Regions from separate parts of the Homo sapiens genome. Here region 1 is linked to region 2. Evidence: promoter capture Hi-C in 16 types of primary human blood cells and fetal thymus (Javierre and others, 2016). All regions are on one chromosome and are shown on one strand. The core of a region is centred on a gene start or on the middle of the fragment in contact, and the rest is flanking DNA. Distances in the headings are between cores, read along the strand shown.

What was found. The method cuts DNA at HindIII sites, captures the fragments that hold promoters and counts their contacts. A CHiCAGO score of 5 or more calls a contact.
Region 1: a contact is called between a fragment that was not itself captured here and the fragment with the promoter of MAP2K6 in region 2, in 2 of 17 cell types (total CD8 T cells and total CD4 T cells). The highest score is 11.2, in total CD8 T cells.

Annotation. Positions count from the first base shown.
Region 1 is chr17:11,988,500-11,996,377 of GRCh38, reverse strand. ZNF18 (zinc finger protein 18) reads left to right here. Exons shown (of 7, transcript NM_001303281.2): 2 at 3,467-3,935; 3 at 5,215-5,404; 4 at 5,828-5,916. The coding sequence starts at 3,549. Among named protein-coding and RNA genes, the nearest start is that of ZNF18, 5.0 kb to the left of the region's middle. RefSeq lists an enhancer at 4,433-5,087. The HindIII fragment of the contact is 700 bases long and covers 4,450-5,149 here.
Region 2 is chr17:69,412,346-69,419,308 of GRCh38, reverse strand. It overlaps MAP2K6 (mitogen-activated protein kinase kinase 6), which reads right to left and starts at 4,612. Exons shown (of 12, transcript NM_002758.4): 1 at 4,309-4,612. The coding sequence starts at 4,324. The HindIII fragment of the contact is 8,167 bases long and covers 3,135-6,963 here.

The DNA of each region.
Region 1 (7,878 bases), core at 3,550-6,049, about 57 Mb after region 2:
TAAATTGCAGTAAGTTTACAGGTCGGTATCTTGCTATCTAAAATCTTGCCGCTTGTTATTTGAAACTCTTGAGCCAAATAGGTTGGATTTACAAAGCAAGGTATTTTTAAAAATATATTTATTCGTTTTTTAAGATGTTATTTGAAACTGTAGGTTTACCTCTGAGCTAAAGCTGCTTTTCAGGTGGTTTGATAATGCTGTCATTGTCACTCAGTATGAAAACATATTTTAATTTCCTTTGTGATTTTTTTCTTTGACTATGGGTTAAGAGCATTATTTAGTAATTTCCATAAATTGGGATTTTCTAGTTATTGTTATTGATTTCTACTTTAATTGCACTATGATCAGAGAATATATTTGAACCCAGGAAGCTCTAAAGTTTTCCATTTGACCTTTCTGGTTTTGTTTCTCTTGTGTTCCTTTTCTATCAGATATTGGGTTTTTGAGTGTTTTTTGGTATTGCTTTAATGGCTTTTTAGCAATACCACTTTGCGTAATATTTTTAGAGCTAATTTTAAGATATCAGTCATTTGAAAATTATGCATATGGTCTGTTTTGATGAATACTCTTTGCACTTGTAATGAATGTATACTCTGCAGTTCTTGGGTCTAGTGTTCTGAAAATGTCAATTAGAGCAAGTCGGTTGATAGTGTTCAGATTTTTTGACTTCACTGACTCTTTTTTTTTTTTTTTTTGAGATGGAGTCTCCCTCTGTCGCCCAGGCTGGAGTGCAGTGGTACGATCTTGACTCACTGCAACTTCCGCCTCCCAGGTTCAGGCTGTTCTCCTACCTCAGCCTCCTGAGTTGCTGGGATTACAGGTGCGCACCACCATGCCCAGCTAATTTTTGTATTTTTAGTAGAGATGGGGTTTTACTGCGTTGGCCAGGCTGGTCTCAAACTCTTGACCACAGGTGGTCCTCCCGCCTAGGGCTTCCAAAGTGCTGGGATTGCAGGCGTGACCCACCGCGCCTGGCCTGGGTTTCTTTTTTTTTTTCTTGCAGTGGTGTGATCTCGGCTCACTGCAACCTCTGCCCCCTTGGGTTCAAGCAATTCTCCTGCCTCACTCAGCCTCCCTGGTAGCTGGGATTACAGGCATTCACCACCACGCCCGGTTAATTTTTGTATTTTTAGTAGAGATGGGGTTTTGCCATGTTGGACAGGCTGGTCTTGAACTCCTGACCTCAAATGATCCCCCTGCCTTGGACGCCCAGAATGCTAGGATTACAGGCGTGAGCCACTGCGCTCAGACCTGGGTTTCTTTTTAAGCAAAAAATAAATTTAATGAGGACCACATAAAAAACATTTGGTATTGGATTACGGTTGCAAGGGTCCATTTATACAAGGATTTTCATCTGCCTCTGTGACTCCTGCGACTGCAAGACCAACCCTTCCTTCTCCTTCTCCTGTTCCTTGTCCTCTTCAGGCTACTCAGTGTGAAGATGATGAAGGTGACCACCTTTATGGTGATTCACTTCCACTTAGTGAATAGTAAATGTAGTTTCTCTTCCTTATAATTTTCTTTTTCTTTTTTTTTTGAGACGGAGTCTCGCTCTGTCGCCCAGGTTGGAGTGCAGTGGCACGATCTCAGCTCACTGCAAGCTCTGCCTCCCAGGTTCATGCCATTCTCCTGCCTCAGCCTCCCGAGTAGCTGGGATCACAGGCGCCCGCCACCACGCCTGGCTAATTTTTTGTATTTTTAGTAGAGAAGGGGTTTCACCGTGTTAGCCAGGATGGTCTCGATCTCCTGACCTTGTGATCCAGCCACCTCAGCCTCCCAAAGTGCTGGGATTACAGGCGTGAGCCACCTGGCCTGGCCTCTTCCTTATAATTTTCTTAATAATATTTTGTCTAACTTACTTTATCACAAAAATACAGTAACATGCAAAATGTATGTTAATCAACTATTTAAGGCATCAGTCAATAGACTGCTAAGCTTTTGGGGAATCAGAAGTTATATATGGATTTTCTACTGTGTGGGGGGTTGGCGCCCCTATCTCCTGCATTATTCAATGGTCAACTGTAATTCTTTTGACTTCGCTTTTTCCTTTCTCAGGCCCTTGAAAAAAAATTGTTTTTCTTTTTTAGTTTTTAAATGATTTTCCAATGTCGGATAAATTATTTTGGTGAAACGGTAAGGATGAAGACATTGTTTCCTACACCTTAAGAAATAAGCAGCTACAAAAAGCTAGAGTATTGTACTGATCTCTGATTAAGCCAGATCCTCAAGTGATGGGGTATCTTTTTTTAAAAATTGCTGTGATTAGTCTTAGGGAGAAATGATGACCACCAAATTCTTCATAACATTTAAGGATTTACCCAGTAATCCTATATTGTGATTACTTGCAAGAAAGTTAACTAGAAGTAGTGGATGATCCTTTTTAGAATAATATTATTTGCGATTTAATATTTCTCTTTCTACTGTCTTAGTTGTGATCTTCTAAAATTTGATACCATTCACATAAAATAGTGATTATTTATATCAACACCATAGGAGTATTTTCAAGGTAGTTAGTCTTCTCAACCCTCTTTTTTTTTTTTTTTTTTTTTTTTGTGAGACGGAGTCTCTCTCTGTCCCCCAGGCTGGAGTGCAGTGGCGCGATCTTGGCTCACTGCAAGCTCCACCTCCTGGGTTCACCCCATTCTTCTGCCTCAGCCTCCTGAGTAGCTGGGACTACAGGTGCCCGCCACCATGCCCGGCTAATTTTTTGTATTTTTTTTTAGTAGAGACGGGGTTTCACCGTGTTAACCAGGATGGTTTCGATCTCCTGACCACGTGATCCACCTGCCTCGGCCTCCCAAAGTGCTGGGATTACAGGCGTGAGCCACCATGCCCAGCCTTCTCACCCTCTTTAACCCCAAGGTTGAAAGTGTCAGGTATGATACTTGTTTTTTTCATAAATTCTCAAATAGACCTATTTTAATATGGCACTCAAAAGACCTCTCTTGGAAGTTTCATTACACCTTTTTGGTATACTTTTGGAAGTACTTTTGGTACCTTTTGGAAGACTTAACTTGTTCTCTTTAACCTCCTATTTATTACAGAAGCATGTAGGCATTAGCTTTTATTCCTAGGGCATTAATATCTTTTTCCAGCTTTATTTTTTAGTATGCAGATATATAGATGAAGATGTAGAAGTGTTTTGTAGAAGAGCCGTTTACCTGGAAACCTATAGTGAAAAAGTTTCGTATGGTGCATTTTATTCTTCATTTTGTCTGGACATTTGAAGACCAAGAAAGAACATTATAAAATGGGCAGGGAAATGGTGGCTGTTTAGATACAGTATCAGTAGTTTGCTTTGTGGCTTCAAGTTTATAATCTTTCAAAATAGAATCGTGTATCCATTGAGCAATTTCAAAAGCTCCATAGTTGACCCCATGGCTTCTCGGGTAGGGCATGTGAATTTGTTCTTTCTGAAAATGTGTCCCCTTCCTCTGTGTAGCACTCAATCTCATTCCCTTTTTAGTGTCCTGGTGAAGACCTAGTTCTTGCCGGAGACAATTCCACTGCAGAAGCACTTTACTTAAAAGGACTTGCCAGGCTGGACAATGCCCGTTGACTTGGGGCAGGCCCTAGGCCTGCTGCCATCGCTGGCGAAGGCCGAGGACTCCCAGTTCTCAGAATCAGATGCTGCCCTTCAAGAGGAACTCTCCAGCCCTGAGACCGCACGCCAGCTTTTCAGGCAGTTCCGTTACCAGGTGATGTCTGGGCCTCATGAGACCTTGAAGCAACTTCGGAAGCTCTGTTTCCAGTGGCTACAGCCAGAGGTTCACACCAAAGAGCAGATCCTAGAGATCCTCATGTTGGAGCAGTTTCTGACCATCCTGCCTGGGGAGATCCAGATGTGGGTGCGGAAACAGTGTCCAGGAAGTGGAGAAGAGGCAGTGACCCTTGTGGAAAGCTTGAAGGGGGACCCCCAGAGACTGTGGCAATGGGTAAGCAGAGGGTATTATGATCTGCGAGTGAAACACAGGGCTCCTCTCTGGTCCCATCAGGTGTGTTGTCTTTTTTCTGATACCACTTATGACACAAAATGGGTGGGGCTTTTCACACCAATGGCCAATTCTGTGATTCTCTAACACCAGTACAGTGTCCAGCAATTCAGTTCTGAAGCTAACTCTGGAGGTTCAGGGCTCAATCCAAGACTGCTCCTGTTCTCAGATGCCAGTCACAAGTCCCAGGGGCCACCTGTACTTCTGACAAATTGGCTATAAATTCGGAGGTTCCCACAGTCTTCTCTTCAAGTTTGATAATTAGTTAGAATGACTTACAGAACTCAGGGAAGGATTTTACTTCCTGTTACTGACTTACTCTAAAGGATACAACTCATTAACAGCCAGAGAGAAGAGCTGCATAGAGCAAGGTGTGGGGGAAAGAGCGTGGAGCTTCCATGCTTCTCCTGGCGTGCTACGTTACCAGTACCTCCATGAGGTCACCAACCTGGAAGCTTCCTGAACCTCATGGTTTAGGGATTTTTATGGAGGCTTCACTGCTTTGGCACACTTGATACAGTCATTTGCCGTTGGTGATTGAGTATCTCCAGCTGCCCTCCCCTCCTCAGAAGCTGGGTGGAGATACTGAAAGTTCCAACCTTTTAATCTCAAGGTTGGTTCCTCTGGCAACCAGCCCCCATCCTGAAGCTATCTAGGAGCCTAGCATAAACTCAGGTGTGGTTGAGAAGGGCTCCTTATGAATAACAAAGACTCTTCTTTCACCTGTCCCTCAAGAAATTACCAGGGTTTTAGGAGCTCTGCGGGAATGGGAACTGGGGACAAAGACTAAATGTGTATTTCTTATTATACCACAGCTGGGTTCCCCCATACCTCACGTAATTCTAACACTCTCTGACTCTCAACACTCTTTAGCTATTGAGGATTGAGGGTAAAGTCTCCCAGCGCATTCCACCTTTAGACTAGAATGTTTGAGAAGTTATTTAAAAGATGCCTGAGTTTTCATTGGTGGCGCATATCCAGTAGAAGCACGTTAGTGGCATGTCTTGAAGGTCTCCCACGCCTGATTCGGGCCTCAGCTTTTGGTGTCTTTTGGGACGTTTCTTTCCCTGGTTCCTGCTGGACTAGAAATAAAAGCTGGTTTTCTCTTTCTCCACATCCTTAGAAATTGTCTTATGATCTGTTGTAGAGAGTAAGCTTTGTGTCTTTTAGAGATCCTTACTCTGGATTCTTCAGTAATTACTAATTAATATATGGTCTCTAGATCAGTATCCAGGTTCTAGGACAGGACATCTTATCAGAGAAGATGGAATCTCCAAGCTGCCAAGTGGGGGAAGTGGAGCCCCATCTTGAAGTGGTGCCTCAGGAGTTGGGACTTGAGAATTCATCCTCAGGGCCTGGGGAGCTTCTGAGCCACATCGTGAAAGAGGAATCTGACACAGAAGCAGAACTAGGTGAGGATGGTGCTGTGTGGTGTTCTCTTGGAGAGATTTTGGGATTGTGATTAGTAGGCCTAAGTGAGTTGAAATGGTATGCTGCTCAGATTGGCGTATCCCTGAGAGGTTTGCAAACAGGTTAGACCTAAATAAACCGCTCTTGTTTGGAGAGTCAAAGTCTGTGTTTTAAACTGCTTTATGACTGGGCCAGACCATTTGGATTTTGGCTCTGAGGAAGGAGGTGGGAGAACATATGGGTGAGACTGGAATGTTGGAGGGGGTTGGAGTGTGTCAGGGAGATAAACACAAGTCTTGAAATATAGATGGCAGTACAGGTATTGTTCAGGTATTGTTCTGATTTGTGAAGATTGTTATCTGCGCCCTCTGGGGAGTGGTTAAGGAAGACATCCAGATTCTGAAAACTTCCTCTCCTCACTTCAGCCCTGGCTGCCTCCCAGCCTGCCCGACTGGAGGAAAGGCTGATCAGAGACCAGGACCTCGGAGCCTCACTGCTCCCAGCAGCACCTCAGGTGAGCTGACGTACAAAAGCGATGAAAAGGAAACTTTTTACCTTTTATAATCTCATCCTCCTGCTTCTCTTCACCCCATTCTCCATCCTGAGGAAACCTCTGATCTGCTGTCTGTCACCATATGTTAGTTTACTTTTTCTAGAGTTTTGTAAAAATAGAATCATGCCAAATGTACTCTTATCTTTGTTCTTATGCATATAATGTGTATATATATACATATATATATATTTGCTTATTTCAGTGTATTCTCATTTTTTAAAACAATTTGATTTTGATGTGCCTTGGAGTCATTTTCACATTTCATGTAATTGGGATTTATTGAGTTTCCTAGCTCTGTGGGTGTATGGTTTTCACTAAACTTGGAAAATTTTTGGCCATTATTTCTAAAGCATTTTTTTTTCTGTCTCGCTTATTTCTCCTCTCCTTTAAGGACTTGGGAAATAATACCTGTGGAATGTGTATAATGATAATGTATATACATGTATCAGAGCTCTTCAAGTTGTCCCACAGCTTACTGATTGTTTTTCTGTTTTTGAAGTCTTGGTGTTTTATTTTGGACAATTTCTGTATGTCTTAAAGTTCATTAATCTTTTCTTTTATAGTATCTGATCTGCTGTTAATCTCATCCAGTATATTTTTCATTCTGTTATTGAAGTCTTGGTCTTTTATTTTGGACAATTTCTGTTTGTCTTCAAGTTCATTAATCTTTTCTTTTATAGTATCTGATCTGCTGTTAATCTCATCCAGTATATTTTTCATTCTGTTTTTGAAGTCTTGGTGTTTCATTTAGGACAGTTTCTATTTTGATGTCTTTAAGTTCATTAGTCTTTTCATCTCACAGCATCTAATCTGCTGTTAATCTCTTCCAGTATATTTTTCATTTTAGATGAATTTTTCACCTCTAGAAGTTTGATTTGGGGCTTTATTGTATCTTTCATGTCTATACTTAATGTGTTCAATTTTTTCTCTAGCTTCTTGAACATATGGAATATAGTTGTATTTGTATTAATATCCTTATCTACTGATTACTACCTGCATTGGTTCTGGGTCAGTTTTGATCAATGATTATTCTCATTATGAGATGTATTTTCCCACTTCTTTGTATGCCTGGTAATCTTTGTCTTTTTCGTTTGTTTTGAGACAGGGTTTCACTTTGTCTCCCAGGCTAGAGTGCAGTTGTGCAGTCATAGCTCACTGCAGCCTTGACCTCCCGGGCTCAAACCATACTCCTGCCTCAGCCTCCTGAGTAGCTAGAACTACAGGCATGTGCCACAATGCTTGGCTAATTTTTTTTTTTTTTTTTGAGACAGGGTCTTGCTGTGTTGCCTAGGCTGGAGTGCAGTGGCGCGATCTCAGCTCACTACAACCTCCGACTTCTTGGTTCAAGCAATTCTCCTGCCTCAGTCTCCTGAGTAGCTGGGATTACAGGCGTGTGCCACCATGCCTGACTAATTTTTGTATTTTTAGTAGAGATGGGGTTTCACCATGTTGACCAGGCTGGTCTCGAACTCCTGACCTCAAGTGATCCACCCAGCTGGGTCTCCCAGAGTGCTGGGATTACAGGCGGGAGCCACCATGCCCGGCCTGCTTGGCTAATTTTTAAATTTTTGTGTGTCTTACTATGTTGCCCGTGCCTGGTAATCTTTGATTGGGTATCACATTGGTGGGGTGCTATATATTTTTGTATTACTATAAATGTTCTTGAACTTTGCTATGGGGTGCAGTTATTTGGACACAGTTTATTACATGGCACCAGAGAAACATTTAGTCGAGGATTATTCTTTCCATGCTAAGGCACTTCCCTTCTGAGTATTCTGAGTAATCTGATGCCCCTTCATATACCAGGTTTTCCACTTTGCCTGGTGGAAATACGAACTGTTTCCAGCACTGTGTGAACTCAGGGGATTGTTCCCTCTGATTCTTTTGGGTGGTTATTTTCCAGACTTTGCGGGGACGCTCTGT
Region 2 (6,963 bases), core at 3,363-5,862:
CCCAGGACTTCCACCTCTAGGAATCATCCTAAAGAAATAATTGGGCAAATGTATAAAGATGTATGTTCCAGGTATTCCTTACAGTACTGTGTATAGCTGTGCAAAAAAATGGAAACTGTTTGAAAACTCAATATGACATTAAGTAAATGGCTACATTCTTACAAATTAAAATTCACGGTTGTTAAAAAATAGGTAACCTTATGTGTACTACTACAGAAAGATATCCAAGATATATGGTAGAGTATAAAAAAGCAAGTTACAAAATACAATATATAGTGTGTAAAATAACATGTACATACAAATATGGAGATAGTACCCAAAAAACTAACAGTAATTAGCTCTGGGTGGTATGACTTTGAGTGAGTTTTATATTCTTATTGTGAATTTATCTTTGGTTTGAATTTTTTGATTAGCATATGTCATTTTTTTTTTGCAATAATAAAAAGCTATTTTCAGAAGGAAGAAAAGAGAATGGAGAGTGAAGAAGAACTGGACATTCAAAGCCTGTGGTTTTGCTCCCTGGAATTTAATCTAAGGGCATAGTATGCATGATAATGTAGGAACTGGTATGATCATCACGGAAATATTCACAATAGTGAAAGTTAATAAACATTAAGATTCTATTTAAATAAATACAATGGAAGAGGATACTATGAATGTAGAAATATATAAACTTGGGAATATTTTGCCATATATTGGTAAGTGAAACAAGAGGGAACGAAATAGACTTAGTTTTACACACATTTTGGATGCTTCATACACATAGATAGAAAAAAAAAGTCCAAGAGAATAAATGCCAAAGTGTAGACTGCAGTAACTAGTCATTCTTATTTTTCCTTTTCTATGAAATGTTTCTATAATGAACAAGGGTTATTTATGAAATTTCTTTTAAGTTTTAAAAATATTCCTTGTAGATCTTTCAGATTTTAAAATACTGGGGAGTCATTAAAGTAACACTAATCTGAAAAACAAAGACAAGAGAATCTCAACTCTTTTCTCCAACATTAAATTTACCAACCAGAGACCCCTGAAGCCCCCTACAGTTAACAGGCCGCATGCTCTAAAGAACTGAATGCAATGCTAATACAAAGCAAGCTCAGGAAACCCAAGCTACCTATTCTGATTTTGTGTCCTGAGATGTACGGGGTTATAAAACATACTGGCTCAGATTACAGGCTAAGCATGACAAGTCCGTCTGGTACAACCTAACAAAGGAATTTATAGAGAACAAGAAATTTACACATTTCATTTCCCAAGGGTGGAATGAATTACAGAAGCAAAGAACCCCAGTAGAGTTAAGACCTTTCCTACCACTCTGCTATATGCTTCTGAATTGTGCCTCATAGGCATTTCTTACATGATTTACTTATTGCTCTCTAAAACTAAAATAAACTAATATTTTTTAAAGGTGAATAGGAGGAGAAGTGAGAAAAGTGTATTTTAACAGGGTCAAACTTTTTGTGTATTTTCAGGTGAACTGGGGGATGCCAGATCTCCCTACCTCCCTCTTTCTCTCCCTCCCTCCGGAGATCATTATGGCTGATAACAATAGTTTTTCTCTCCCGGGTAGTGTAGATGACACATTTTTCCTGTAGCTTGTCTTCCTGTAGTGTGCAGGAATTCCTGCACTTTCTGGGTGCCCTTCCTGTTAACTTACATTTCAGATTTCCTCAAAAGGCATTCTACTGCTTTAATATTTGAAAAATGTCAACTCAACCCCAGACAGCTAATATAAACAAGCTGAAAAGCATACCACCTAAAGTTACAACTGTGGAAAACAAAATTTCTTTTTAAGAAATTCTTTCTCGGAATCTCACTGTTGGTAAGGCTGTAGAGCAGTAACCCAGTCCTTCCAGCTTCCAGAGAGTCTGTAATTCCTTTGCCTCTGCTGTGCCTTAAATTAGAGGTCTGTTAAACCGAATTATAGTGATCTAGAAAGTTCGTAAAGGTCCTTGAATTGAACATATTGTTAAATTCTTCAATACTATGAGATTGTATCCACTTTTCACTTTTCCTCCCATTTCTTGGGTTAGAATATTAAAAAAGAAGTTTGGTACTGCAAAAAGTATTTTGGCCATTTGAGAATAGCGTAGCTGAATAAGGCCAATTCCACATTTAAAGTCCAGGCCAAGGCGGCTGGCTCTTTTGCCATTTCTAAAATGATCACCCACTTCTTTCTACCAATAATTTTCCTTTCGGACAAGAACCCCATGTTCATTCCAGATGTACTTTCCAAGCAGAATCCAATTAAGAAAACTCATCTGGGTAAATGGGAATTGATTTGAAGGACCACCAGTACCTGATCCATTGTAAACACATCCATAGGGAAGAGTGCAGTGCTAATATCTCCTTTGGCTTCTCAACTCAAAAACTGGCTCTACTAAGAGGGAGCCACGTTCATAGTGAGCCCAAAAATATGCAAAAAGGAGCCTGATTTAGTTTAGACCCTAAAGTCCAAAGATAAGATCACAGTAAACACCACCCTCTTCATAAACCTTCCTGACTATCCCCCAAATAGATAAATCACTTCCATTTTTAAACTCCAATAGCACCATTTCTCTTCAATACCTGTCCTATTATCTTGTATTATAATGATTTCCTTACATTCTTGTTTTCACCAACCCGAAGGAAAAACTTCATTTTAAATATTTTTGTGTGTCCCTAAATCATGTGCACACATACACACACAATACATACATATACATGCATATATATACACACATACATATGTATATACATGCATATCACAATATATTACACATATATTAAACTGAATTGAATGAATGAGCGAATGTTTACCAAATACAAAGTAACTAAATGCCATCTCTTTAATACATCAAAGCATGGACTGCCTCTTCTGAACTATTATTTCTCTACTCAATAAGGAGATTTTTAGGTTTTCCCCACTTGAGGAACATCTCCACCTGATATGTCAATTCCTAGGTTCTTCAGCACTCTTAACTTTTCAGATTTCCATTCTCCCCTAATACTCAAAGAAAAGCAGAGTGCTACTTTGAATGCTTGAGATTACTACTTCCTTCTTGGGCTGCTGAGATATATGACTCCCATCAGGTAGAATTAAAAAGCGGTGCAACAACTCCCCACACTCCCTCCCAAAAAAGTAGCAAAAAGCTTGTTAGACCCTTTAATTTCACCATGTCTTACTCAAAGAGTGCCCCGGGTAGCCTAATTCAATAGTATCTAACACCTCTCTTCATCATCCCATACTTCTCATATGGCATATGCTTTCTCTATGGTAAAGAAACAATTGTTCTGAAACAAGTGACTTGGGGTCCCAGGGGCACCTGACAGCACCTAGTCTGCTCTTTGATGTCATATCAGGAATTTTTTAAATCCCCTTCCCAGGGTGACATTAAGCCTGCAAAATACAACTGTGTTTAAAAACAAAAATTAAGAAAAGAAAATAAAAGAACATAAAGAAAACAACCATAACGTGAACTTCCAACCTATTACAGCTGACTAAATACACGCAGTTACACACTTAAAATATTTCATTATGCTTGTCAATGAAACAGTGCAGTCCCTTCACACTACTGTAATGCTTAAAAGTACAGTTTTACCCCCAATATTTTCCCCCAAGATGCAAAGCATCCCCCAAATGGGCAGACATAAAACATTAGGTCTTCACTGCTGCTTCTAAATTTTGCGAGCCAATAAGCAATTGGTGTAAAGTGCAAAATCTCAGAAGAGCAAGACTCGTCTGCTTTTTTGTGATATGCTGTTATTCACCCTTCACCTTTACTTCCTTTAAAAATCAAAAGTTACCTAATGTTCAAGGCGATATCAATGGAAATTTAGCTAAATACTGGCACCGCAACGGTCTATTTCCCCCAAAGAATATAAGATTACATTAATTTCCTAGTAGTTTAACTCAAGTTTTACCTTTCATCTTCACCTATAGAGTTTTTAAAAGTTTCTATTCCTGTTGCATACAAAATTACTTACAATATCTGTGCATAGTAAAGAATTTTACAATTATATAAAGCCTTGCACATTTAGACGCTACCAACCTGCTCTGTCTCTCCTGACTGTGCAAAAGGCAAAAAGAGCTCAGTAATCCTAGCAGAAGAATGCAAATAACGTCAATGCACAGCTGAACTGCAAGCCCTGCCTTACAGGAACTCTCTGTGTCTGCAAAAAAAGACACATACTAAACAGGAAATGCAACTGAGCTGTGGAAAACCTCAAACTTAAAAATGCACTCGCCAGGCGAAAATTGCATCCATGCATTCATAAATGCATGCACAACCCTTTGCATTTTTGCAACTAATGCAAACAGCCTCTTACCTTTCGACTGAGACATTTTCCCCTTTCCTTTGATGGGGGAGGGGAGCACAAAAGACTTTGCCTTGCTTCTCTTCTGTAGCTAGTTTTGCAACAAAGATGCAAGCTGCAGGCGTGCAATCTTCATGCAAGTGGAGTTTCTCTTGACCGATGCAGCAGATGGACTTTCAGGGAATCAAGATGGAAATGCACACCTTGCAAAACAGACTGGAAAGTGATTTTTCCCCCAGTTGCAACGTTAGGGAAGGCTGTGCTGCAGCTACATGATGGGCCAGGGCTGGCAGCTAAAAGCTCCAAACTTGGAACTGAGTATCTTAGTGCGCAGACGTCCTTCCTGCGAAGGGCGCGAAGGCCGCTGGGTAATGTAGTTCTCCGGCGGAGTCCACGGGGCTCTGATTTAAGGAAACGTGGTCGCCCCGGTCGCTGAGCGAGATAACTGGGTGCGACAAAGATTGCGTCCAGATAAACAAGTCAGACACACACTCAGTAGAGTGATGGGTGAAAAGCGGCAAGGCCAAGACGGGGCGGCAGTTTTGTTCTCGAAAAGCCTCTGAAACAACAGCTAAAGAATATTAGGTTAGCTAAAGAGCTTTTGGCTTGTCGAGAAGGTCTGTTTGGGAGTTTAGTGTGTTGATTTTGCAGCTCAGCACCTGTTGTGCTGTTCTTGCCTGTAGACGTTTTACCCTCACACCTCCGTTTTTTGTTTGTTTGGGGGTTTTTTTGTTGTTGTTGTTGTTGTTTTTTTCCCGAGAGGGAGTCTCGCTCTGTCGCCCAGGCTGGAGTGCAGTGGCGCGATCTCTGCTCACTGCAACCTCCGCCTCCCGGGTTCAAGCAATTCTCCTGCCTTAGCCTCCCAAGTAGCTGGGATTACAGGTATGCGCCACCACGCCCGGCTAATTTTTAGTAGAGACGGGGTGTCAACATTTAGCCAGGCTGGTCTCGAACTCCTGACCTTATGATCCGCCCACCTCGGCCTCCCAAAGTGCTGGGATTACAGGCGTGAGCCACCGCGCCCGGCCACACCTCCATTTTTAAAAACATTTTTTCTAGTAAGAAAAATGTATGGATGATTGGGTTGGCTGGAGGTAAGGTTACCTTTGCTCTGTGGAGAAGATGCAAAGTTTTATTTTGTCAGAAACAATCCAGGTCAGTTATTTCCAAGGAACCCGAAACTCAGTAGGGGGTAGGTGTGGGGAAGAAGATTGGAGGCTTCTCATTTCTCACAGGGTTACAGAGGAAGTTCTGCTTTTTATACATCAACGCTAACTTTATCAAAATTAAGGTATCTAGATGATTTTTTCTCACCTGGGAGGAGAGTCCCTGGCCTAGGGGGAAAGTGGGTGGAAAATGAATACAGTCGAATATCTTGAATTTATTCATTAAAATTAAAAGATACTTGTTGAGTGTCCAGGATGTGCCAGGCGCCTTTCTAGGGCCCTGGGATGTTCATTCATTCTGTACCGCTCACACATAGTGGGTACACAGCACCCTGATGGAGAACGGCATCACCTTTTTCACAAGGAAGCCAGAGATGCTTAGCACAATTCACTGCAAGGAATGGAGAGGAGTGAGCAGGGCATGGGCAAAAATGAGCTCGGACTTATACTTCATGGAGCAGACAGACTCAGAAATGTTCTTTTAAGACAGAGGGAGGAATTGAGGAATTCAAGGAGGTGTGGACAAAGCACTGTGGCAGAAATAAGGACAACCTTACTCAGAAGCTGCCAAGGAGACCTTGTTGCCTTGTGTGCAGGAGTGGTGAGGGCGGGGGAGATTTACAGGTGAGGACTCCACAGGGCCTTAAAAGGTGGGCTAGAGGTTTGGACTTTATTCTGCAGGTACTTGCGGGGAGGTGAAAGGGTCTTGCAAAGGGGCGTAACTTAATCCAAGCATTGTTTTAAGAAAGTAAATTTGCCCTCAGCAATCAAGGTGGGTTGGAACTGGGAGAGGCTAGAGATAGGTTAGGTCAGTAGTGAAAGGCAAAAAGAGGCACTTTGAAAGAAGATTCAGCTAGATTTGATGATTACTAATGAAAACTATTGGAATTGTATTTAGGATGCTGGAAGCCAGGACCATCTGCATAAGGGATGCATTAGAGGGAAGGAAGCCGTCTTATTTCAGCTGCAAACCAGCAAATCAAATCTTAAATATGCAATAGGTTGTGAGACTAACATTAATTTACTTAAGTTGGTCCCCTTTACTGACATTCTTGACAATTAGTGAAGGCAATCTAATCTCCATATTAGCTTCTGCCCCTAAGAGGAAGGCATTGCTGGTCTGTGAACACAGGTGCAAGGACTTTCTAACTCTTTTATTGTCCTTCTAGGCTAATCCATGTTGTCCCTTCCCTCCTATCGTATACACACAAGCTCAGCACCCCCTCAAACCAGCATGGTTTCCTAAGTCTCATTTAACCAGGAGACACGTGTGAAAATCTAGTTCACTTTCCCAAACACTGATGGAGCCAGGCCCTGGGATAGCTGCTGGAGCTTTCTGTAAACTGGCTTAGCCCAGGCAGGGCCTGAACAGCCACCTAGAGCTTGCTTCAATTTGCATTTTATGTGGTCAGCTGCATTGCTCTTAAGTAGCCCCAGACTCCCTTCTTTATGGAAGAGTTCTAATCACAACTTGTCTGGTGCATTTTGCCACTGTCATTAC